Linked DNA regions of Homo sapiens: region 2 is linked to region 1. Evidence: promoter capture Hi-C in 16 types of primary human blood cells and fetal thymus (Javierre and others, 2016). All regions are on one chromosome and are shown on one strand. Each heading gives the region's core, a stretch centred on a gene start or on the middle of the fragment in contact. The rest is flanking DNA. Distances are from core to core; before and after follow the strand shown.

What was found. The method cuts DNA at HindIII sites, captures the fragments that hold promoters and counts their contacts. A CHiCAGO score of 5 or more calls a contact.
Region 2: a contact is called between a fragment that was not itself captured here and the fragment with the promoter of SNN in region 1, in 1 of 17 cell types (non-activated CD4 T cells). The highest score is 5.3, in non-activated CD4 T cells.

Annotation. Positions count from the first base shown.
Region 1 is chr16:11,665,986-11,672,541 of GRCh38, forward strand. SNN (stannin) reads left to right here and starts at 2,470. Exons shown (of 2, transcript NM_003498.6): 1 at 2,470-2,555. RefSeq lists a silencer at 2,143-2,562 and an enhancer at 3,670-3,769. The HindIII fragment of the contact is 10,329 bases long and covers 1-5,033 here.
Region 2 is chr16:11,353,167-11,359,722 of GRCh38, forward strand. All of the region lies in intron 1 of LOC105371082 (a long non-coding RNA gene), which reads left to right. Among named protein-coding and RNA genes, the nearest start is that of RMI2, 11 kb to the left of the region's middle. RefSeq lists enhancers at 1,085-1,937, 2,115-2,264. The HindIII fragment of the contact is 5,116 bases long and covers 292-5,407 here.

The sequences.
Region 1 (6,556 bases), core at 1,220-3,719:
CGCACCCGGCCTCATCTCCATTTCTCAGACGAAAAAACTGAGGCACAGAAACGTTCGGCTGTTTTTCCAAAACCACCCAGCAGGAAAGCCTGGAATCTGGCAATCTGACTCCCAGCTTCTATGCCATGCTGAATCTCCCTCACCATTTTCCCCCAAGAATCTTTCCCCTCTAAGTGTCCCTGCCTCCCCTGTCATCGTGTTGCCAGTCCTGGCTCTGGGGTTCTTAGCCTGCCCCTCCCAGGTCCTCACCACTAATGAAGTCTCTGCCAACTTGAGGCGGGGACCACAAAGGCTGCTGGAACTGGCTTTGTGGGAAGAACCTATTTCCTTCCATTCTGGGCTCCTAGGTGTGGCTGATGGGGCAGGATTTGGGCAGATGTGGGGGCGGAGCTGTTCTGAGATGCCCGGCTTTGGCCTGTGGGGCAGCTGGCTGAAGCTGGGCTCTCCTCTGCCTTTCTGTCCTCCCTTCCTGCGCAACTCCCAGCTCACCTCCTGTGCCTGGCTTCCTGACTAGGCTGCCGCTGAACCCGCCCTGGAGTTCTGCAGTCCGATCATTCATTCATTCAACATCCATGTATTCAGCACCCACTGTGTGGCAGGCACTGTTCTGTAGACACAGCAGTGAGTGCAATACACCTAGTCCTGGGAGAGAAGACCAAAAGTTCATCACACAATGTCAAAAATGTACAATTTCACAATGGGTAGGCTGGGCATGGTGGCTCAAGCCTATAATCCCAGCACTTTGGGAGGCCGGGGCAGGAGGATCACCCAGGAGTTTGAGACCAGCTCAGGCAACAACAAGAGACCCTATCTCTACAAAAAATTAAAAAATTAGCCGGGCATGGTGGCATGCACCTGTAGTCTCAGCTACCTGGGAGGCTGAGGTAGGAGGATCGCTTGAGCCCAGGTTACAGTGACCTATGATTGCACCACTGTACTCCAGCCTGGGCGACAGAGCAAGACCTTCTCTCTAAAAAAAAGAAAAAAAATTGCTTCGTCAAATCTGCCCACATTCATAGATATAGGCTGAGTGGGACGATGGCTTGAGCCCAGGAAGGAGTTGGATGGAGGCTGTAGTGAGCTGTGATTGCACCACTGTACTCCAGCCTGAGTGACAGACCAAGACCCCGTCTCAAAAACAAAACAAAAAACCCCAAGGGAGCTACTCTTGGCTGGGCGATCAGGGAGGGCCCTCCTGAGGAAGGGGCACTTAAGCTGAGATCGGGAAGATGAAGTAGAAGAGTTCCAGCTGCAGGGAGCCACATAGGCAAAGGCCTGGCGGTGGGAAAGGCTTGGTGCACTGGGCGCAGGGAAGAAAGCCCAGCGAGGCTGAGTGGAGGGAGTGAGGGCCTGGCCACCTCAGCCTCGTGAGCCCAACCCGCCATGCTCTTCCAGAGGCTTCTGCTTGAGAATGGGAAAGAAGTTTCCAGCAAATAAGGCCCCCGTTCCCAGGAGGAGGTCCCAGCTCGCCCTGCCCCCTCCTGTCTTCTCAAGTCCCCTGGGCCACAGAAGCCTTGAGGGACCCACCCTCACCCCTTCTGTGGGCCCCAGGGCTGGGGTGTCCTCTCGCCGATGGCCTTCTTGGGGTGGATGAGTGGAGATTACTCCAATAACTGGAGCCTCTGTCTTCCCAGGTAGACAGGCCTGGCCTCAAAACCCTCTCTCCATCAGGAGCAGGCTGTGGGACTTCAGCTCTTTGGAGCCTCAGGTTCCTCATCTGTAAAATGGGAAGATTCTTTCTTCCGGAGTCATCTTAATAAAATGTGTTGGGCTGTTTATACAGGGCAGGCATTTGGTGGGGGCCAAACCACCGGGTAATTATGCTAAAAATAACTATGATTATAGGTGGCAGAGGGGTGCAAATGCCTCACAGCCTCATCCCGCAGAGGAATGAGAGCTTCGTCAGGGCCGGGACCTTGTCTGGCTCGTGGCTGCTCCCACGACGACTGGCGTGGCAGGCACGTGGTCAGTGTTCCGCCATCGACTGACTGGGCGGATGAATGATACATAAATGAATTCGCGAACGACTGATGCCCAGCTTCCTCCCGAAGCAAGGTCATTCACCTCAGCGGTCGCGCCTCTCCCCTGCCCCTGCCCCGGATTCCCCGCCGCTCTCAGCTCTCGAGGAGTATGCAGCACTCTTCCGTGCAGCGTGCCTCAGTTTCCTCCGCTGTAAGCAGGCGGGACCAAGGCAGCCTGCCGGGGTCAGGATGAGGCTGGCAGAGGAAGGGCGCCTGTAGTGGGGCCCCGTACCCACGGGCGCCCAATCCGCGCTCGCCAGGGCCGAGCCCGCCCGCCGCGCGCAGCCCCCGCCCCACCGCCTGCCGGCCCCGAGCACACGTGACTCCGCCCCGGCCCGCCCCGCCCCGCCGTCCCAGCGCGGGCTCCCATTGGCCTTTCTGGGAGGCCCCGTCCCCAGCCGGGGAGGAGCCGGGCCCCGCCCGCCGCAGCGCGGGGCTCCTGCGTCCCGAGTGCGCGGCGGCCGGACCGGGCGGGCGGAGCCGGGCCCGCGGGGCTGCTGCGGGGCGATCGGGCCGGGCCGCTGCCGCGCCATGGTGAGCCGGGCGGGGCAGGCCGCGCGCTCGGGCCGGGCGGGGGCGCCGGGGCCCGGGGGCGGGAAGGGGGAGGCCAGGACGAGGAGGGGCGCGCGCGGCGGCGGGGCCGGGCCGGGGTCTGCGGGCGGGGGAGGGGCGGCCCGGCGGGCGCGGCTCGGGGGAGGGTCCGTTCCAGGGGCCGCGCCCGCGGGCTGGGGTTCTTTGTCAGCGGCGCTGCGGCGAGATCCGGACAAAGGAGGCGGCGGGGGGCGGAGGCCGCTTTGTGGGGATCGCGGGGCGCTCGCCCCCGCCCGTGCAGCCCCCGCCCGTCCTCAGCTACGCTCCCGCCTTCCCCCGGCATTTCGGGGTTCTTCAAAATTCTGGGAGCTCCGGGGAGGGCTCCGGGGATAGGGGTCCAGGTGACGTCCGGCGCCCGTCTCGCGGGTAGGGAAACTGAGGCCGGGCCGCAGCGTTCGGCGCCCGGTTCCGTGGGCAGCGGCTGCGCGGCGTGGGCATGCCTAGCTCCCCTGGTCCCCGTCCCACACCCCGCCTCCGTCGGGCCGATTCGAGCTACCTCCCCAGCTGCCGTCCCCTCTCCAGCTGTCGCCCCCTGGGCCGAGCCCCCTCCTCCCTGGAGCCTCGCTTTGCTCCTCCGTGGAGTGGGGGAGACGCCGGCGCCGCCGGGCAGGGTGGAACGGGAGGGTGCGCGGAGCGCGCCTGGCACCGCGCCTGCCACGCCGCCCGCGCTCAGCACTCGGGAGCCGCCGGGGCGCTGTCACCCCTAAGTCCCCAGCACCCAGCCCAGGTCGCCCAGCCCGCCCCAGCGAGGGCCACACTGGGGTTCACCTGTCCGCGGCCCCTCAGGCACGCGGGAGAGGAGGTAGGGAGAATGTGGCATTTTAGAGTCAGGGTCGAAATGCGGGATTTTGGATGCAGGTTGCCTGGGTTTGAATCCCTGCGCGTCTACTTTTGAGCTGTGTGACCTTGGGCAATGGACTTAACTTCTCTGAGCCACCAATTTCTGTATCTGCCAAGAGGGAACAGTAATAGCTCAACTGCCCTGTTGTCTTGAGGCAGAAAGGAGACATCTGCGTGAGCTGTTTATCTCAGTGTCTGGCACATATAATTGCCACCAACTTTCTCCGGCATCTACAAGCAAAGTTGTTTGGCCAAACAGGCCAACCCTGGGGCAGCCTGTGAAAATGACCAGCGGGTGATTCACAGGGTGGGGGCATGAGCCTCTGGCCTGGCCCGAGGAAGACCCCGACTGACCTTGGGGCAGTCCCGGTTCAGAGCTCTGCGGGCTCCCGCTTCCTCTTTTGCCACTGGGGAACCTAGGGGATTCTGGAGCGAGTTTCCTCTTCTGAGGATGGGGGTGTCATGGGTGGGGGTGGAGGATGAGATAACACTGGCCAGAGAGCTGGGCACAGCCCCATCAGTGTCAGTCCCACTGGCATCCGGCCGTTCTTGGTCCTGGCTTCTGGAGGGCTGGGGCCTTGTGTGATGCGTCCTTGTGTCCCACTGGCTGCTGGAGGCCCAGGGCAGAACGGACGTCCCGCCTCGTCCTGGCTGTGTCCAGCAGTGCCCTCTTCTCCCTACAACCCTGTTTTCCCAGTCAGAACCTGGGGCAGGAAACGTTTCTGGTTTGTGACCCGGGGTTCGCTGAAGAGTTTGTTGGCACCCTTGGCAGGTGGCTTTATGGGGGGAGGCAGTACTGAAAGCCCCGTAGGGATGGCTGGTCCCCTGTAAGCAGGGCAGCCCTCCTGGCGTCTGTCAAGGAGCCTCAGGAGGTGGCGGCTGCAAGGCGGGGGTGTTTTGCTGGTGGTGAGCCCGGCAATGCTCATGATGTGCCCGGTTGAGTTAGGAGGAGGCAGCGTGTCCCTGGGGAAGGGGTGTTTGTGGCACTGGGCCTGGGCCAGGCTCTGTGCCCTTCTGGCCCTGGGGGTGGGCTTGGGGATCCCTCGGGCTCAGTGTTCTCCCTTTGTCCCTGCTGTAGCACACAGGAAGGTGTGGCTGGTGACATGCAAACCTGGTGACCTCATGTCCCTTTTGTTTTCACTTTTCTTACCACTTCTCATCCTCCCCACGACCTGGTAGATGAGGTCAGGGACTCGTATCCGCTTTGCGCATTGAGAAACTGAGGCCAAGAGGAGCAGCTTGCTTGGCTGGGCGGAAGCAGGCCGCAAAAGTGAGTGCTGGTCTGGGAGGATGGAGGGGACTCCAGCCTGCTCTACTGCGGTCTGTGGGCCCCCCGGGCCTAGAGCACATGGAGTGGCCTCTGGAGTGGGATCAGGCTCAGACAAGCCGGGGTCCTGGGAGGGAGAGCAGGACAGGAGGATACCCGTCCCCTCTCTGGTAGCTGGGGCAGGGACTGTCCATTTGAATGGCTCTGACGGGGTGGGGTTCACCCCCGGCTCTGCCCCCATGCTCCTTGGGTCCCAGTTACGGATCTCTGTGGGCCTTGGCAAACCCGGCAGGACAGTGTCAGTAACACCTGCAAGCTTGGGCTGCTGGGGAGGAGTGGCCAAGGGCGGTGCAGGCCCCCGCTCACCTGGCATGGCTCAGGCTTGTCTTGCAGTTGTTATTCCTTGGGACATGTGTGGGCTCTGCCGGGAGACAGAGTGTGTCCTGTGCTGCAGTTGACCTCCTTTGGGGTTGTTTGAGGATGCTGGGGCAGGGGGTTCTGGAGAGCCTGGGCCTTGGATCTTGCTTTTATAGTGGGTGGGTGGGATCCGAGAGTCAGGACCCCCTTGGCAGAGGATGGCAAGACTGAAGGCACATGGAGCAGGAGGGTGTGTGTTTGGGGGATCCAGATGGCCTTGGGCTTCAAATGCCAGGCAGAGGGGACACTCCAGCCTGCCCAGAGATGGAAGGCCCAGGCTGTGCTCTGGGTCCTGGCCCCTCTGCACTTGGAAGACCCCTTGGCTCTGCTGGGCTCCCCTCTGGGCTCCCATCCTGCCTTCTGGCTTTTTGCTTCACCTCCCTGCGTGCGCCTCAGTTTCCTCACCTGCCAGATGGAGATGCTAGGGTGAACAAAGGTGGCTGCAGCCTTTCTGGATCAGATGCTGGTGGGAATGAATGTGAGCTGCTGTCATGATGGTTGTTGGGTGGGCCAGGATTCCCATGTGCCAGCCTGGGCATCTCCCCAACCCAAGCTGTGGCCCGTCCCTGTCCCCTGCATCCTGTGGGCTTTACTGGATCAGGGCGAGGGGTTACCCAGCTTGCAAGACACAGCTTTGCTCAGAGGGGCTAGAAAGGAAGAACAGACAGGTGGGGTCCAGCCAGGCACAGGGGCTTGTGGGGACCTGCTGCCCTCCGCGCTTTGAGTTTCCCGGGGCTCTGCTTGGCCACCCCCTTCCCTCCCTGCCTGCCAGCAAGCATGGAGCCAGCTGCCCTTCCATGGGCTCAGGCCTGCCCTAATCCACTGGCACTCGCCGTTCTGTCCCCACACTAGGCCTGCAGCCTTCTCCCATGCAGTCTGCCGGCTTTTTTGAGTCTGTTGGGACAGAACATGGGGACCTGTGCTCAGGGTTCTGGGAGTGCCCTGAGTGTCAGGGACCCCCCCACCTATGATCCCCCTGAGAACAGGGTCTCCTCTAACTCATCACTGTATCTGCAGGGAGGGAACACTCAACAGACCATTCACTGAGCACCTACTGTGTACCCGTGCAGGGCAGGGGTACAGCTGTGGGCGGGACAGACGGTGCCCTCCTTGGACTGCCTTGGAGTCCAGTGCGGGGAGTGAGACAGCAGCCAGGGGACAGCCCCTGAGCCTAGAGAAGGGCAGGTAGCAAGGAGAGCAAATGAAGTAGGGCAAGGCTGTAGTGGTGGGGTGTGGGAGGAGGGGCGCCTGGGTCCAGGGTGGTCTGGGAGGGCAGCCTGCAAGAGGCGCCTTCTGAGAAAGTCCCGAATAGGAAGGTGCCAGCCGTGGGGCGGTCAGGGCAGAGGTGGGAGCGTGGGCTCGCAGCGGAGGGTGTGGGGACGCCTGGGGAGGCAGGGAGCTTGGATTCTCTTTGGTGCTG
Region 2 (6,556 bases), core at 1,600-4,099, 310 kb before region 1:
AGAGCTGCTGTAAACATTCATGCCCAGGTTTTGAGTGGGTGTAAGTTTTCAGCTCATTGGGGTAAATGCCTAGGAGTGCAATTGCTGGGCCATATGGTAGACCTATGGTTAGCCTTGTAGAAACTGCCAGTCTGCTTTTGCATTCTCACCAGCAATGAAGGGGAGTCACTGTTCCACATCGTCTCCAGCACTGAGTGTTGTCAGTGTCTCGGGTGTGCTGTGCTTTTAAACTATTTTCTTTTTAAAGCCGGGCAGATTGGAAAGTATGCATCATTTTTGTTGCCCACAAGAAGCTTGTTTTGAACTGTTTTATGTTCACAGTTTGGGATTTTTCGGGCAATATTGCTGAGCTTTAACAGGAACTTTGCAGTCCTGTCAACCTGAATTTGAGCCCTTCATTTGCAAGTAACCTTGCCGTGTGACTATGAGCAAGGTACGTAACCTCTCCATTGTTCAGTTTCTTTATCTGTAAAATGCAGATTATGCCCAGCTCATAGCACTGGTGTGAGGAATAAATGAAGATGTAGATCACTTTTACATGGTATGTGACACTTGGTAGGCACCAAATCATTATTGCTGGGAGGATCAGTATGTTCTTGCTTGTCTACACACACACATACACACACACACACACGAGAGAGAGAGAGAGAGAAATTGCAAAGATAGTACAAAGAGTTCCCATATACCTGTACCCAGCTTCCCCTATTATTAACATGTTAGTATAGTGCATTTGTTAAAATTCATGAACCAATATTGAGATGTTATTAACCCAAGTCTGTACTTCATTCAGATTTCTCTGGGTTTTTCCTAATGTTCTTTCCTGTTCCAGGGTCCCATCCGGGACACCACATTCCATTTCGTCATCATGTCTCCCTAGGTGCTCTCCCTGGCTGGGTCGTTCAATCAGTTGCTTTTAATTGCATTTAAATTTAATTTTGGTGCAGACAGTGAGATCTGTTACAGAATTCTTAGGTTAAAACTTAGTCACAATGGCTGGGTGCAGTGGCTCACGCCTGTAATTGAAACACTTTGAGAGGTCGAGGCAGGCTGATCACTGGAGGCCAGGTGTTCAAGACCAGCTTGGGCAACATAGTCCCCCGTCTCTACTAAAAACACAAAAAAATTAGCCAGGCATGGTGGCACGCACCTGTAATCCCAGCTACTCTGGAGGCCGAAGCATGAGAATCTCTGGAACCTGGGAGGCGGAGGTTTCAGTGAGCCAAGATCATGCCACTGCACTCCATTCTGGACGACAGAGCCAGACTCTGTCTCAAAAACAAAAAACAAAAAAAGCAAACCTTGTTCACAAAATTATTATGGGGCACCCAGTAGTAGCCCCTGAGCTGGATGTGTGGTAGACTCCCCAGATGTTAACCTGAAGTCTGCCCTACTGTGGCGAAACCTGCTTGTGTGCTAGAAAAAAGACCCAAGCTGCCGAAAACCACCTGTACCGTATCCTGCCCCATTTGTCCTCACCCAACTTCTGGTAAGTAGTGTCCATTGAAAAATGCTAGTTGGGCTGACATGGTGGCCTGAGCAATAATGCATCTCAGGAGTCTGTTGGCGGGGTGGAGGTAGGAAAAGGAGGGCACTGTGTGTTTTTCCTGACAGTCCCCTCAGAAATGCTGGTGGCTTGGTGCTGGAAGGGTGTTGCCTCACCATGTTAGCTGAGCTGTGTGGTTTCTTTGAATGTTAACAACTTTCACTGTTTCGGCTTGAGTTTCCTCCCTGACATCACCAGATGAAAACATATGTCAGAGGTTTTGGGTTTCTGGTGCCAAATCCAAGATGGCTTATCAGCAAGCGCCCCCCGCCAGACAGTGGAGGCTGTGCTGGGGCAGAGCTGCTTCCCCTTTGACATTGGCTTTTTTCTAAAACCGAAAATAAGCAACCGTGGCTGTGACTTCACTTTTCTTGGAACTGCTTTACATTACCCCCCAAATGGAGAAAACCCTCATTTAGCAGCTTTTGGATTGCCAAGTTCTCTAATTCTTTCTGTTGCATATTCTTGTAATGCTCAAGTTTTACTGACAAAGTCTTCTGCATCAGGTGAAGCAGGAGGAGGAAGGAATGACCATGTGAAGTAACTGAGCGCTTTGTTGCCTGGCCTGTGGGTGTGTGGTTTCATGGTTGAGGAGAAAAAGCACCTGGAAGACACAGTGTGTGTAGAATGCCTTCCAGTTCCAAGGGTGACAACCCTGCGATCTGCTGGCCAGCAGATGGGCTAGGGCTGCTGTTGCTAAACATCAGGCTACAGCCGAAACTTACAGAGCAGCTGCCTGCTTCAAGGACAAGGGGAAAAATGCATTTTCAGTCATAATGACCTACATTTAGCAGATATTTCGGAGCCCGTGCGAAAGGACATCTTCAAAGGGCCTCTTCCTCCTTGTGATAAGGGAGACAGTGATGTTAGTCAAACGTGGGGCCCAGTCCTGGTCCTGCCCGTTCCTGTCTGACTTTGGCCTTGGAAGTCTGTGAAGCCGAGACAATTCATCCTTCAAAGGGTGGTACCGGGTAAGTTCTTGGGAATGGAATCCCAAGATCCACTCCTGAGAGTGGATCTTTGTAGACAGGCACATACGTTGTTCTGAAATCATCTGTTGCTATCTCTGTCCCTGTTGGAGGCGCTTCCAGTGACGTCGTGATTGTGTCCTACTTATCTCAGTATCCCTGCCCAGCATGGGGTCTTAGGTAACATACATGGGCAGTCGGTCAATGTTAGGACTGGCTGGGTTTTAGGCTAGAAGACAGAGGAAATATACAAGCAAAGGCACAGTGTCTTAAATTTACACTTGGCCCGCAGCAGTTTTCAGAAGAAAGGAGCCCCCTGCTTAGTAGCGCCTTTTGAATTGGGCCCCCTGTGTAGTTTATAGCAGGCCTGAGGGTGCTGGCTAGACTGTTGGGGAGTGCTCTTTAAGCACAGAGGAAAGATTTGGTAAAGACATAAAAGGGTGGAGGAAAAGGAGCGAGACAGCCGAGTCCAAAAAACGATTCATGTGGTTTGGGCAGAATCTGAAATGAGAGTCCTTTGAGATTGACTGAACGTCTCTTGATAAAGAAAGCAAGTTCAGCTGGGCGTGTTGGTTCATGCCTGAAATCCCAGCACTTTGGGAGGTTGAGGCGGGCAGATCACCTGGGGTCAGGAGTTCAAGACCAGCCTGGCCAACATGGTGAAACCCCATCTCTACTAAAAATACAAAAAATTAGCCGGGTGTGGTGATGTGTGTCTGTGGTCCCAGCTACTTGGGAGGCCGAGGCAGGAGAATCGCTTGAACCTGGGAGATGGAGGTTGCAGTGAGTAGAGATCGCGCCACTGCACTCCAGGCTGGGTGACAGAGAAAAACTCTGTCTCAATAAAATAAAATAAAATAAAAATAAAAGAATGCAAATTCAGCTAAGAGTTAAGTGCCAGGGCCTGTGCTGGAAGCCGTCTCATGAGTCGCTTCATTTTACTGTCCCAGTACGCCTGGGAGGTCTGTTTCCCATCCCCTTTCACAGCTGTGAAAACCGCAGCCACGGAGATGAAGTCCTTTTTCCAGGGGCATCTACCTGGCAGCCGAAGAGCCAGGTGGTGAACCAATAGGTGCCCCTTGTCGTTAAGGGCACTGTTGTTGTGGGTGGCCAGGACCAGGCCCTTCCCTAGGGCAGCTCTTCCCCAGGGCAGCTCTGGGAGCTGATGGTCTCTACACGGGCGCTGGCCCCCCCTGCTGGTCTATGCACAGAAAATGGGATGACAACCCGTCACCAGAAAACAAGGGCACAGAATGGAGCAAAGGAACAAAATGGGGCCATGAGAAACTTCACCCCTGTCTACCCAGGAGTTCTGCCCATTATGGCCAAGCCCAGGTGGGGGTGGGGAGAGTGCTGGATTTGGCAACCAGATGGGTTCTGAGGGGCTTGCAGTGGGGCCAGCCCCACTGTTCATTCAGTGGATGACCTTGGGTGGGTTATTTTCACTGCCCTTCTGATATCCATAGAGAAGGGATGACGTGGGGTCAGAGAGGTTAAATAATTCGTCTGCATGACTGTTAACTGGAATCTGGTGCTTCAAAGTTCACTTTAGTGGCCTTTCTGTCGCCAAGCACCTGCTGGGTTCCAGACTCTGGATACACGAGGTGAAGGAGACACGTGGCTGCCCCCTGTGTGCATGGTATCTTCTTGGACCTCCCATTCCTCCTTATCGTTCCTGTTTTAAGCCCGAGGAAGTCCTGTGCTTTTAAGAACTTGTGCGGTTAGATTGGGCTCACCTGGGTATCGAAGCTAATCTCCCCATCCCAATGCCCTGACTAATCCCATCTGCAAAGTCCCTTTTGCTACGTAAGGTGTATGATATTCAGAGGTTCTGGGGATTAGGGCGTGGACATCGTTGTGTGGGGAGGGACATTCTGCCTACTAGACCCCAAAGATGTGTGTTCATACCAAATACAAAATACATTCACCCTGCCCCAAGGTCTCATCCCATTATAACATCAACTGAAGAGTCCCAAATCTGCTCTCAATCTCGTCACCTAATCACCTCAATCTGGTGCTGCGGAGGCTTTGGGTATGACCCATCCTGAGCAGTTCGTCTCCCTCTGTGAACCTGGAACTCACTAAACCAGTTACCAGGCCCTAAAGTGCAGTGGGTGGCCACCTAGAGGAGCACAATCTAGTTCTGTCCCTGATCCAAGGGACCTGAGATGTAATATGGGCAAGAAAGAAAAGGAAGAAACAATGAGGCTGTACACCCAGAAATACCAAACTGCCTAGCCTCCCTTCCTCCTGCTCACACAGGACAGGGAAAGGAGTTTCTCCAAAGGGCCTGTCAGCACCGAATTCCACATCCTGTGAGCTTGGGAAGATGCCAAGCTACACGCTTTCCTCCAGCGGGTACTGCTCATTTTAGAAAGTGAGTCAGTCTGGGCGTGGTGGCTCACAGCCGTAGTCCCAGCACTTTGGGTGGCCGAGGCGGGTGGATCACCTGAAGCCAGGAATTTGTGACCAGCCTGGCCAACATGGCAAAACCCTGTCTCTACCAAAAATAGAAAAATTAGCCGGGCATGGTGGTGCACGCCTGTGGTCCCAGCTACTTGGGAGGCTGAGGCAGGAGAATCACTTGAACCCAGGAGGCGGAGGTTGCGGTGAGCCGAGATCGTTCCACTGCACTCCAGCCTGGGTGACAGAGTGCCACTGAGACTCCGTCTCAAGAGAAAAAAGAGTCAGCACCTGCCCTGGGGTCTTCCATCAGACAGCTGTGCATTACCTCAGGTGAAGGTTTTCCCAGAGCACAGCTGAGCTTGGTCATCCTGCATGTAGGACTCAGTGTTGTCAAAAGTAGTTGATTATCAGCTCCACCTGGGCTGTTTTTAACCTGGTCCCTACCCATATCTTTAATTAGGATCCACGTGCTGGGGGCTCAGGAAGTCTAAGCTTTTAGAAAGCTCTCCGGTGGGTCTCGTCATCAACCAGGCTTGGCAGCCACAGATCTACAGCTTCCTGGCCCAGAGATAGCTGGGCCACAGGAGGGGTCAGAGCTGCCCGTGGCACTGGTTGTGAACTGGTGAAGGCTTCCTCTGGTGGGGACCCTGGAGCCCTGAGTACCAGGACCAAGGGGTCCATGCATGCCCCAAGCTTCTGAGGAGGAGAAGAAAGGAAGGATGGAAAAAGCCCATGTGGAGGAACAGGGCTGCTCCACCTCTTGGACGTCCAGGGCCATCTTGATGCTGGGCCGTTGCAAGGTAGTGATATCAAGTTCCCTTTTTAAAAAGCCCGGTGGCTGGATGCAGTGGCTCACGCCTGTAATCCCAGCACTGTGGGAGGCCAAAGCGGGCAGATCACCTGAGGTCAGGAGTTCCAGACCAGCCTGGCCAACATGGTAAAACCCTGTCTCCACTAACAATACAAAAATAAGCTGGGTGTGGCGGTGGGTGCCTGTAGTCCCAGCTACTTGGGAGGCTGAGGCAGGAGAGTCGCTTGAACCCAGGAGGCGGAGCTTGCAGTGAGCTGAGATGGCGCCACTGCACTCCAGCCTGGGTGACAGAACGAGACTCCATCTCGGGGAAAAAAAAAAAAGTGAGCCCTTTTACAGAAAACTACTAAGTAAACAATAGTACAGTGGTACCTGAGTGACTGATGTTTGGGTACTTTTTCCTGATGTTCTAAAATAGAGCTGCACTGTCCAATGTGATTGTCACCAGCCTCATGGAGCTGTGGAGTACTTGGAGTGTGCTGGTGTGATAGACAGAGTGGCCAAACTTAGTAAATAAAAGTGTAGGGTGCCTCCCATTCCACCAGTGTGGGCTGTGCACAGTGACTTCCTTCCAGAATGGAAAGGGGGATGAAAGAGTAACTTTACGGTGGTGAAACCTGACAAACTGCCTCAGCCAGCTGGCCAAGGTTAACATCAAGTAATACATCACGTTAATAGCACACATGGGTAAGATGCCTGAGGCCCTGGGAGGCCAGGACTTAGAAGCCTCAAATTCCACAGCCAGTCCTCACCGCCCTCACGTGGCTCCTGCAGAGAGTAGGGACAGTGCCCTAAGGGGACTTTGGGAGTCTCATGTGACCACATGAG